Regions from separate parts of the Homo sapiens genome. Here region 2 is linked to region 1. The links are contacts of gene promoters, found by promoter capture Hi-C in human tissues and cell types (Jung and others, 2019). All regions are on one chromosome and are shown on one strand. Each heading gives the region's core, a stretch centred on a gene start or on the middle of the fragment in contact. The rest is flanking DNA. Distances are from core to core; before and after follow the strand shown.

Evidence for each region. The method cuts DNA at HindIII sites, captures the fragments that hold promoters and counts their contacts. A contact is called where the count stands out against the background at its distance.
Region 2: a fragment that was not itself captured here is called in contact with the fragment with the promoter of THRSP in region 1 in 2 of the 25 tissues and cell types used here (dorsolateral prefrontal cortex and mesenchymal stem cells).

Annotation. Positions count from the first base shown.
Region 1 is chr11:78,061,892-78,066,967 of GRCh38, reverse strand. It overlaps THRSP (thyroid hormone responsive), which reads right to left and starts at 3,107. Exons shown (of 2, transcript NM_003251.4): 1 at 2,627-3,107. The coding sequence starts at 3,086. The coding sequence ends at 2,646. The region is part of intron 1 of NDUFC2-KCTD14 (NDUFC2-KCTD14 readthrough); the gene reads left to right. The HindIII fragment of the contact is 6,211 bases long and covers 1-4,180 here.
Region 2 is chr11:78,285,173-78,290,415 of GRCh38, reverse strand. The region is part of intron 1 of GAB2 (GRB2 associated binding protein 2); the gene reads left to right. Among named protein-coding and RNA genes, the nearest start is that of USP35, 99 kb to the right of the region's middle. RefSeq lists an enhancer at 1-153. The HindIII fragment of the contact is 5,361 bases long and covers 1-4,094 here.

The sequences.
Region 1 (5,076 bases), core at 1,858-4,357:
TGTAGTCCCAACTACTCGGGTGGCTGAGGCAGGAGAATTGCTTGAATCGGGAGGTGGAGGTTGCAGTGAGCTGAGATCGCGCCACTGCACTCCAGCCTGGCAATAGGGTGAGACTCCATCTCAAAAAAAAAGTTGTCTAGGATAATACAGAAGTCAATGGAAGAGCCAGAACAAGAGCCCAGATTTTTAACTGTTGCTATACCATATTGCCTCTGAATGAAAATCAGGTTAGGGTGTGTTGAAACGTTATGGCGTAGAGTTGCTGCTCTGGCCTTTGAAGCAACTGAGTGAGTCAGAGTGTGGTTTCTACCCACTCTGCCATGCCCAGTTCCCACTTTGAGCCCACTCTGCAAAAGTCTAAGGCTCTAAGGAATACCACTGTAGAGGAAAAGAATTAGACTAATTAGGCCAGGGTTCACATCTTGGCTGTTATTTACTGAGTAAACTTGGACTCATTTTACTTCTCAGGCCTCCAGTTTTCTCATCTGCAAAAGGGAATGATAGGCTGGGCGCGGTGGCTCATGCCTGTAATCCCAGCACTTCGGGAGGCCGAGGCAGGTGGATCACGAGGTCAGGAGTTCAAGACCAGCCTGGCCAACATGGTGAAACCCGGTCTCTACTAAAGATTTTAAAAAAATTAGCTGGGTGTGGTGGCACACGCCTGTAATCCCAGCTACTTTGGAAGCTGAGGAAAATCTCTTGAACCTGGGAGGTGGAGGTGGCAGTGAGCTGAGATTGCACATTGCACTCCAACCTGGGGGACAGGGTGAGACTCCGTCTCAAAATTTAAAAAGGTGGGGGGGGATGATAATTCCATTAGATAATGGATATGCAAAGTGATCTTAAAACTATTCAAATGCCAGTTGTTAGTTTTACAACCACTGTTATTATTCAGTGAAGAAGCTGAAACCCAGAGAAATGAATTAGCTTGCCCAAGGCCCCACAGCTCATTAGTGATAGAATCAGAACGTGAACCCAGAGCTGTTGACACAGCCCCATCTAATTCAAGAAGAACCTCTGTGAGGCAACTCAGGGAGCCTCAACGGGAGAGGGAAGAAGGGTTGAGGTTGACAGTTTGGGTTTGAAGCGGGAGAAGGAAAAATGGCTGAGAAAATGCCTGGAGCAGAGCTCTCCATAGGCTCTGTGTTTGGGGGTCCCATGTTTATTCCGCATAATTACAGAGCAGCCTTCACACAGATTATGAAGATAACACAAAATGGCAGACAGTGGGTACGATGGAAAGAACACTCAGCTCAAAGTTGAGGCCAGTCTTACTTTTGTCTCCTTACTGTGTGACTTTGGGTGAGTCACTTCACCTCTCTGGCTTCAATTTCCATACTAGTAAACTGGGGATGAGAATCTTTTCCTACATAGCTGCATCAGGTGGTTTTGAGATTGCAATGGACGTGGATGTTGTTTACAACTAATGAGACCAGTTTGTGGGAGCAGGGCTGGCAGGTGGCACAGAATCAAAACTGGCAGGTGCTGTGGTCCAATTTCTATTAATACTAGTCTTTATCCATGAGTGAACTAGTGGTGACCATGCTAGGGCCCCTTCCCACCTCCTACCCTCTGCCACCACCTGCTTGTCTAGCTTGCTGCTCATCCACACTCACCACCCCAGCCCCTCTGTGCATAGACATGTAGGCTTAGACTGGAACACATATTCATATGTACATACAACAGGGCTTCCCAACAGGCATGTCTGCATACTCCAGTTTGCCTGGAATGGATTAGAGTGCCATGACTGGTCCCTCGGCTTCCCGTTTGGTGGGTTCCAACCTGGGATGGTCAGAGTACCCCCAGCCTGTTGTAGCAGTACTGCAAGCAGCCTCACCTATGTATCCCCATGTGCCATATAATAATTTTCCATGTTCTGTGACTTGAAAAAATGTTGGGAAACACTGTCACACAAATGGAATTCACAATGTTCACTTAAATCAATGTGCATGCCTTAGGTAAGTTTTTTTTTTTTTTTTGAGATGGAGTCTCCCTCTGTCACCTAGGCTGGAGTGCAGTGGCACAATCTCAGCTCACTGCAACCTCTGCCTCCCAGGTTCATGCCATTCTCCTGCCTCAGCCTCCCGAGTAGCTGGGACTACAGGCACCCACCACCACGCCCAGCTAATTTTTTGTATTTTTAGTAGAGATTGGGTTTCACCATGTTAGCCAGGATGGTCTCAATCTCCTGGCCTCATGATCCGCCCGCCTCGGCCTCCCAAAGTGCTTTGGTGTGAGCCACCGCGCCTGGCCCCTCTTCAATTAAATTCTTAACAAAGTCACTGATGAGAACACACTCATTCAATTCACACATTTACAAGCATTCACATACTAATAAATGCACACATGCACAAACACATATATGTGCATATGAGATATGCCCTCACAGGCCACTTTTCCCTCTGTTTCCATATCACTTCATTGCAATTGCCAATTTGAGGTCAGAAGGATAGTAACACAGGCCTAGTCTTAGGCCCTCCTAGGTTGTGGTCCCAATACCCTGACCCAAGAGTGGCTCTGTCTGAAAGTCAGGCTGTTCCTCTCCCAGTGGGTTGCACCACTGCCCCCTCTCCTCTCCTGGAATGTCCCTTTGTAGACTCACACCCACCAGCATGGCCACCATTACCTTCCCTAGTGTCCAAGGTCTACCAAACTTGTCCCGTCATTTCCTGGTATTTCCTTGTCACCTCCTGGGCTTTCTCGGTGAGGTGCATGAGGATGTGATGGAGGCTGGAGAAGTGCAGGTGGAACTGGGCTTCCAGGTCCAGCTCTCCTGAGGCACTCTCGTCCTCGACTTCCTCTGTCTCTGCGGTTCCATTCTCTTCGCTGCCTGCCACCTTGGCCTGCCACTCCTCCCGCGGCAGCAGCCCATGGTCCACATCCACACAGATGGCCTTGAGCATGGTGAAGTAGGTGTAGAGATCAGGGGCCTCAGCCTGGGCCTGGCCCCCAGGCCCACTCAGCTGCACGTCCCGCAGAAGGCTGGGGATCATCACCACCTGCTCCATGTTGTGCACCTCGGCTGCATACCGGTCCATGACGGTCAGCAGGCAGTTCTTGGGGTAACGCTTGGTTAGCACCTGCATGGTTGCTTCCTCTGACACAATGAGACCAGCAGACTGCCCCCGCACTATTTCTAGGCTCTCGGCAGATTGACAGGATGCCAATGCCCAGCTGTTGGGTCAACACAGCCCTGTTTTGGGCCAATCCCAGGGCTCAGGCCCCAGCATCTGTATCAGGTGATCCATCTGCCCAGAGACAGATCTGCCAGCCTTCTACTTGTCATCCCAGCTCTGCATGACTGCCCCAGCAAGAACCCGACTCTTCCTCTGTCAGCTTGCTGAGCCAGTTGGAAGGAAGCTTTTCCCTTTGGCAACTGGTATACTGGACTTCAGGGCAATAAATAATTCTTTCAGGTCACTGGAGACCAAGCTGTCTCTTTGCTGCCTGCTTAGGGCAGCCCTCCAAAGCACAGTTCACTCCTTCAACCTGGGGTGACTCCATTGTGAAATGGAGAGGATTTGAAGTGAAACAGCTTGATGTGGGGCAAGGAACACTGAGGTTGGAGTCAGAAGCCCAGTACTGCAATTTCCTAGCTGAGTTTTTTTTTGTTTGTTTTTTGCTGGCTAACATTTATTGAGCACCTACTGCACATCAGGGTCTGCTGAGCTTTTTCGTGAGTGATCTCATTTAATCTTCACCACAACCCTTGTAAATGTTTTATTTATTTAATTTTTGTAGAGATGGTCTTGCTATGTTGCCCAGTCTGGTTTTGAACTTCTGGACTCAAGCAATCCTCCCACCTCAGCCTCCCAAAGTGCTGGAATTGCAGGTGTGAACCACCAGTATTCCTGTTTTGCCAGTGAGGAAATTTAGGTGCAGACAGCTAAAGTAACTTGCTCAAGGTCCCACTGGGGCTGGGATTCCAGCCCAGGACCACCTCTACCCACCTCCAGGCAGTGCTGTGGACTGACATGAGGTTACATAGTCATACAAGTTAACCAGATCCATATCCTCTGTAAATTTGAGGTGGTGTGAGGATTGAATAAGACAAACTAATAAAAATGCTTTGTATCAGTCCAGACAAGCGGCTGGGATCAAAAGAGGAAAAAAAATGCTTTGTAAACCACAAAGCCCAATCCTCAGATGTATTATCTATGCAGATTCTAGATTATTGCTAAGGCTTCTCCCAAATCTAACCAGTCATTCCATAAGCTACAATGCTTCCACTTTATTACTGACCTTTCCTTGGACCAGCAGTCTTGGAAGATAATAATCTTTTGCGTGGTCATATTGTCATAGTTTACAAACTGCATTTGCTATATATTTTTTATTAGATATTTAAGAAAATGGCCGGGCGCAGTGGCTCACGCCTGTAATCCCAGCACTTTGGGAAGCCCAGGCGGGTGGATCACGAGGTCAGGAGATCGAGACCATCTTGGCTAACGTGGTGAAACCCTGTCTCTACTAAAAATACAAAAAATAAGCCGGGCGTGGTGGTGGGCGCCTGCAGTCCCGGCTACTCGGGAGGCTGAGGCAGTAGAATGGCGTGAACTCAGAAGGTGGAGCTTGCAGTGAGCCGAGATGATGCTGCACCACTGCACTCCAGCCTGGGCAACATAGCGAGACTCCGCCTCAAAAAAAAAAAAAGAAAAAGAAAAGAAAAGAAAATGAAGGCCTGGGGAAAGGCCCAAAGTTGCACAACAAGTTAGTGGCAGAGTCAAGTGGAGAATAAGACATTCTGAATTCTGGCTCAGGTACCTGCCTCCTCCACTGCCTCTGGTGAAATCTGCTGAATGATGATACCTCCCACGCCTGCAGGAGAGGAGAGAGGAGGAGGGAGCACAGGGAGGGGACGTGGGGCTGAACAGGGCCTCTGTGTTGTCTCACCTAAGCCACCCTCACCTCCACCCTAGGGCAGGAGCCCACTCTGCACCCTCCCAACTGACAATCATTCACTCCTCTGCTCCCTCCCACTACAGCCAGAGCTATGAAAAAGCTTATCTTTAGACTGAACAAAATTCCGCCTCCCAGCCCGGCATGGTGGCTCATGCCTGTAATCCCAGTACTTTGGAA
Region 2 (5,243 bases), core at 165-2,664, 230 kb before region 1:
ATGTACCCACACTTTGTGGTCTTGATGGTTGTGAAATGGTTTGTTTTCTGACAGAAGGAAAACAGTCACTTCTATTTCATCAGAGATGGGAGTGGCATACCCTTGATCCTAGACACAAATTCTTTTTTCCAACTTTCTTGACAGTAGACCCTATCCATATACTTCTTTAAGCCCCACTGTTAAGTAAAGTGACTTTCATTGTCTTTTGTCTCCGTTATTACTACCCTAATTTAGATTGCCATCTTCTCTCACCATTGCAGACTATCGCAACAGCTTCTTAATTGTTTTCTTGTCTCTTATTTTTTATTTTTCTGGTTTGTCTCCCGCACTTTGCCAGATGAGAGCACAGCATTGGTTAACATTTCTCTGCTGATCTATACTCTTCAATGGCTCCCCGTTACAAATAAAGGAAAGATGAAACTTCTTAGGGTGGCATTCAAGGCTTTTCAGGACCTCCAAACTCTTCCTTTCCTCCCTCTTTTCCATATTGAGAAGACTGTGCCATATTCTCTGAACCTATTTTATCTGTTCCCATGCCCAGGCCTTGGTCATTGGTCATACTGTATGTTGTATTTAAAAAAAAAAAAAAAAAAAAAAAAAAGGTCCTGTTCTTCCTTTCCAAAACCGCATATCAAACCCTACCTTCCTCATTGTTTGTGTTCATTGCTCCTTCTCTCTCGTGCATGTTTGCTTTCTCTCATGCTGTTTCTCTCTCTTAACCCTGAAAGTTTGATTCCCTGCTTCAGTGGTCTACTAGCGTATTATGTCTTTTTTTATGGTGCTTACAAAAAAATCTTCTAGTTTTAGGGATATATATTAATGTCTTAACTTCCTGAAACTTTGTAAATATTGTAAGTTACTTCAAAGGAGTATTTTTGGGCCTTGCCTCTTTATCTGTCAAAGCATTCAACACATTTTGTGTTTGTTTTTACTGAATTCTATACAAGGAGCTTGTTGATTTCTCATGAAATGTACCTTAGATCCCAAAGATTTTCACCTTTTTTTCTAAACGTTTTATAGTTTTACATTTTACGTTTAAGTCCATGATTCATTCTGAGTTAGTTTTTGTATAAGATGTGAGACTTAGATTAAGGTCTTTACTCCCCTATGGATGCTTGATTGCTTTGGCACCATTTCTTGAAAAGGCCTTTTCTTTTCTTTTTTATATTAAAATTTTTAGTAGAGACAGGGTTTTGCCATGTTGGCCAGGCCAATCTCGAACTCCTGGCCTCAAGTGATCCACCTACCTTGGCCCCCCAAAGTGCTGGGATTACAGGCACGAACCATGACAACTAGCTGTTTTCTTGATTGAATTGCTTTTACACGTTTGTGAAAAATCAGTTGGGCATATTGTGAGGGTCTGTTTCTGGGTTTTCTGTTCTAATCCATTGTTCTTCACTTGATCTTAGCCAAACGGCCAAGAATTGATCTATTCCACTTTTCTGTGTCTGTCTCTTCGCCAGTGCTACACAGTCTTGATTGTTGTAGCTATATAATAAGTCTTAAAATCTGGCAGACTGATTCTTCCCATTTTATTTTTCAGAATTATTTTAGCTATTGTGCTTCCTTTGCCTTTTCATATACATTTTAGAACAATCTTACGTACATCTACAGACATTCTTGTGGGATTTTGATGGGAATTGTGTTAAATCTGTACGTCAGTTTGGGGAGATGCACCAAGTCGAGTTGTCCAATCCATGAATATGGTATGTCTCTTCATTTATTTAAGTCTCCTTTGATTTCTTTCATTAGCTTTGTATAGCTTTTAGCATACATGCCCTGCACAGCGATTTTTTTAGATTTATACCTTTTCAATTTTTAAGAACAATTATAAATGGCATTGTATTTTTATTTTATATGCCTGCATATTCATCGCTAGTTAGAAGTAAATTGATTTCTGTATGATTATCTTGTATCCTGTGACCTTGCTGAACTCACTTATTCGTCCTGAGAGTTTTGTTGGGTTTTGTTGTAGATTTTTTGTGTTTTTTCTTTTTCTTTCTTCTTCTTCTTCTTCTTTTTTTTTTTTTTTTCTTTGAGATGGAGTCTCACTCTGTTGCCCAGGCTGGAGTGCAGTGGCACCATCTCAGCTCACTGAAACCTCTACCTCCTGGGCTCAAGCAATTTTCCTGCCTCACCCTCCCTAGTAGCTTGGATTACAGGTACCCACCACCATGCCTAGCTAATTTTTGTATTTTAGTAGAGATGGGATTTCACCATGTTGGCCAGGCTGGTCTTGAACTCCTGACCTCAAGCAATCCACATGCCTCGGCCTCCTAAAGTACTAGGATTACAGGCATGAGCCACTGTGCCCAGCCACGATTTTTCTATATAGATAATCATGTCCTCTGCAAACAGGGACCATTTTTTTTTCTTCCTTTCCAATCAGTATACCTTTTATATATGTTTTTTGCTTTATCACCTTGACAAGAACTTCCAGCAATATGTTGAATAAGAGTGATAACAGTGGCTGGGCACGCTGGCTCACACCTGTAATCCCAGCACTTTGGGAGGCCAAGGCAGGTGGATCACTTGAGGCCAAGAGTTCAAGACCAGCCTGGCCAACGTGGTGAAACCCCATCTCTAATAAAAATACAAAAATTAGCCAGTGTGGCAGTGCACACCTGTAATCCCAGCTACTTGGGAGGCTGAGGCACAAGAATCACTTGAACCCAGGAAGCGGAGCTTGCAGTGAGCCAAGATTGTGCCACTGCACTCCACCCTGAGCAACAGAGTAAGACTCTGTCTCAAAAAAAAAAAAAAAAATGATAAGAGCAAATGTCCTTGCCTTATTCCTGATCTTAGGAAAGAGGATTCAGTCTCTCAAATCTAAGTATAGGCCAGGTTTGCTGGTTCACACTTGTAATCACAGCATTTTGGGAGGCCAAGGCAGGAAGATTACTTGAGCCCAGGAGTTTAAGAACAGCCTGGGAAAAATAGTGAGACCCCCATCTCTACAAAAATTTAGAAATTAGCCAGGCATAGTGGCATGCACCTGTGATCTCAGCCACTCAGGAGGCTGAGGTGGGAGATTCACTTGAGCCAGGAGGTTGAGGCTGCAGTGAGCCATGTTCATGCCTCTGCATTCCAACCTGAGTGACAGAGTGAGACCCTGCCTCAGCAAACAACCAAAAAAAACTAAGTATAACATTTGATAGTGGTCTTTTGTTGCTGCTCTTTTTCAAGTTGAAGAAGCTCCCCTCTGTTCCTGTTTTTCTGAGAGTTTTTATCAAGAATGAGTGTTTAATTTTATCAAATATTTTTTGCATTGAAAGATATGATCATGCAGTTTTTCTTCAGCCTATTAATATGGTAGATGACGGATTTCAAATATGGAATCAGCCTTACCTCCTTGGAATAAATTCCATTTGGTCATGTGTTTTTATAGATTGCTGAATTCTATTTGTATTTTATGTGTAAGTCCATAATCCATTTTGAGTTAATTTTTGTATGAGATTTTATATAGACGTTAGAACAGTCCTGAAAAAGCTTTCTCTTTAATAGCATATTCAGGACTCATGTCCCGTATTCTCCTTGCATTATGTGTCAGTAATCCAACAGCAATTTTTCATTTTTGTATCATGGGTTACTTTTCAGGTGAAGCTCCCAGACCCCCCTTATAAATATTTATTACATGGATACTGCACTTATCAGAATGAAGGGAACAAGGTGCCAAATAACTCACACCATAGAGAATCTATTACACATCTTTATCTTATTCTTTTTTCTGTAATCCTCTTGCTGTCCTTCTTTTCTACTTCCTACTGTGAAAGCTTACGTATAAGTTTTATTAATTTGAACAAATTAACATATTCATGGAATGAAAAAAAATCAACAGATCTTCCCTGAGCTCCTATATGTGTTAAGCACTCTGCCATGTAGTTTTTGGCCACATTGGACCTTAATCTCAGGATGCTCAGAACTTAAAGGGGAGAAAGACATATAAGCATTAGAAATGCCAAAGCAGGGAGTAGAAATGTCAAACCCGGGGAAAGAAATGCCAGCGTGGGGTAAGCACAGGTTAGTAAGGGAAAACAAGCAGAAGCACCTCCAGCTCTACCTGGGGGAGTCAATAAAGGCCTTCCAGGAGAAGTGACATTTGTGCTGGCACTGAGAGAACATAGAAATTCTCCAGATGGATGAGGTAAGGTGAAAGCCTTTCTAGGCAGAAGCCATAGCTTGTGCAAAGACATAAAGTCATGAAATTACATGACTTACTATTTGGAGAATAATAGGTAATTTTTAGTGCTCCTGTAAATTCTGTGAGACGAGGAATTCATGCTGTATCCTCAGCATTAGAATAATACCTAGAGCATAGTAAGCACTGAATAAATATTTGTTGGATGTAAGGAAACAAAGGAGGGAAAGAGCGATGGAGGAAGGAAACATAATTGAGGTGAGAGCGGTAAGAAAGCTTTGGCAATAAAGAATTTTGTTCATGTCCTAGTTGGGAAGAGACAAGTACAAAAACACTCATGATTGTTGTAAAAACTGACATGCCTTGAAAAGAACATAAAAAGCATTATGAAGGTTCCGAGGAAATAGAGGTCCACTTCAGATGAATGGATCAGGGAAGTTGTCACTGAGGCCAGACACTTAGAGTTGTTTGTACTTGGTTCTGAATTGTTTGGCTTTTTAAAAACACATGGGGCCCCATGCCGTGGCTCACGCCTGTAATCCCAGCACTTTGGGAGGCTGAGGTGGGTGGATCAATTAAGGTTAGGAGTTCAATACCAGCCTGACCAACATGGTGAAACCCCGTCTCTACTAAAAATACAAAATTAGCTGGGCATAGTGGCACACGCCTGTAATCCCATTTACTGAAGAGAGGCGGAGGCGGGAGAATCGCCTGAACCTGGGAGGTGGAAGTTGCAGTGAACGAGATGATGCCACTGCACACCAGCCTGGGTACTCTAAAAATATATATAAATAAATAAAACCTGGAAGTGGAGAGAAGGTGTTGTGGTGGAAGAGGGATGTGTGAATTTGGGACTAGACTAGACAGCCTTGCTGACTCTGTCATAAATATATCAGTATTTTGTAGGCAGCCATTTATCAGCCTACACCACTTACTTGGAAGCAAAACCTGACAGGCTCTGATATTATCTGTAGCAAACATGGTTTTCTTGTTCATGAGGGTGTCTGTGTTTTTTGTGCTTGCACCTGCATACCAGAGATTTGGGGACAGCTCTTTCCACAGAGACAAGACTAACGGGGACACATCAACTGAAATGCCAGCTGAA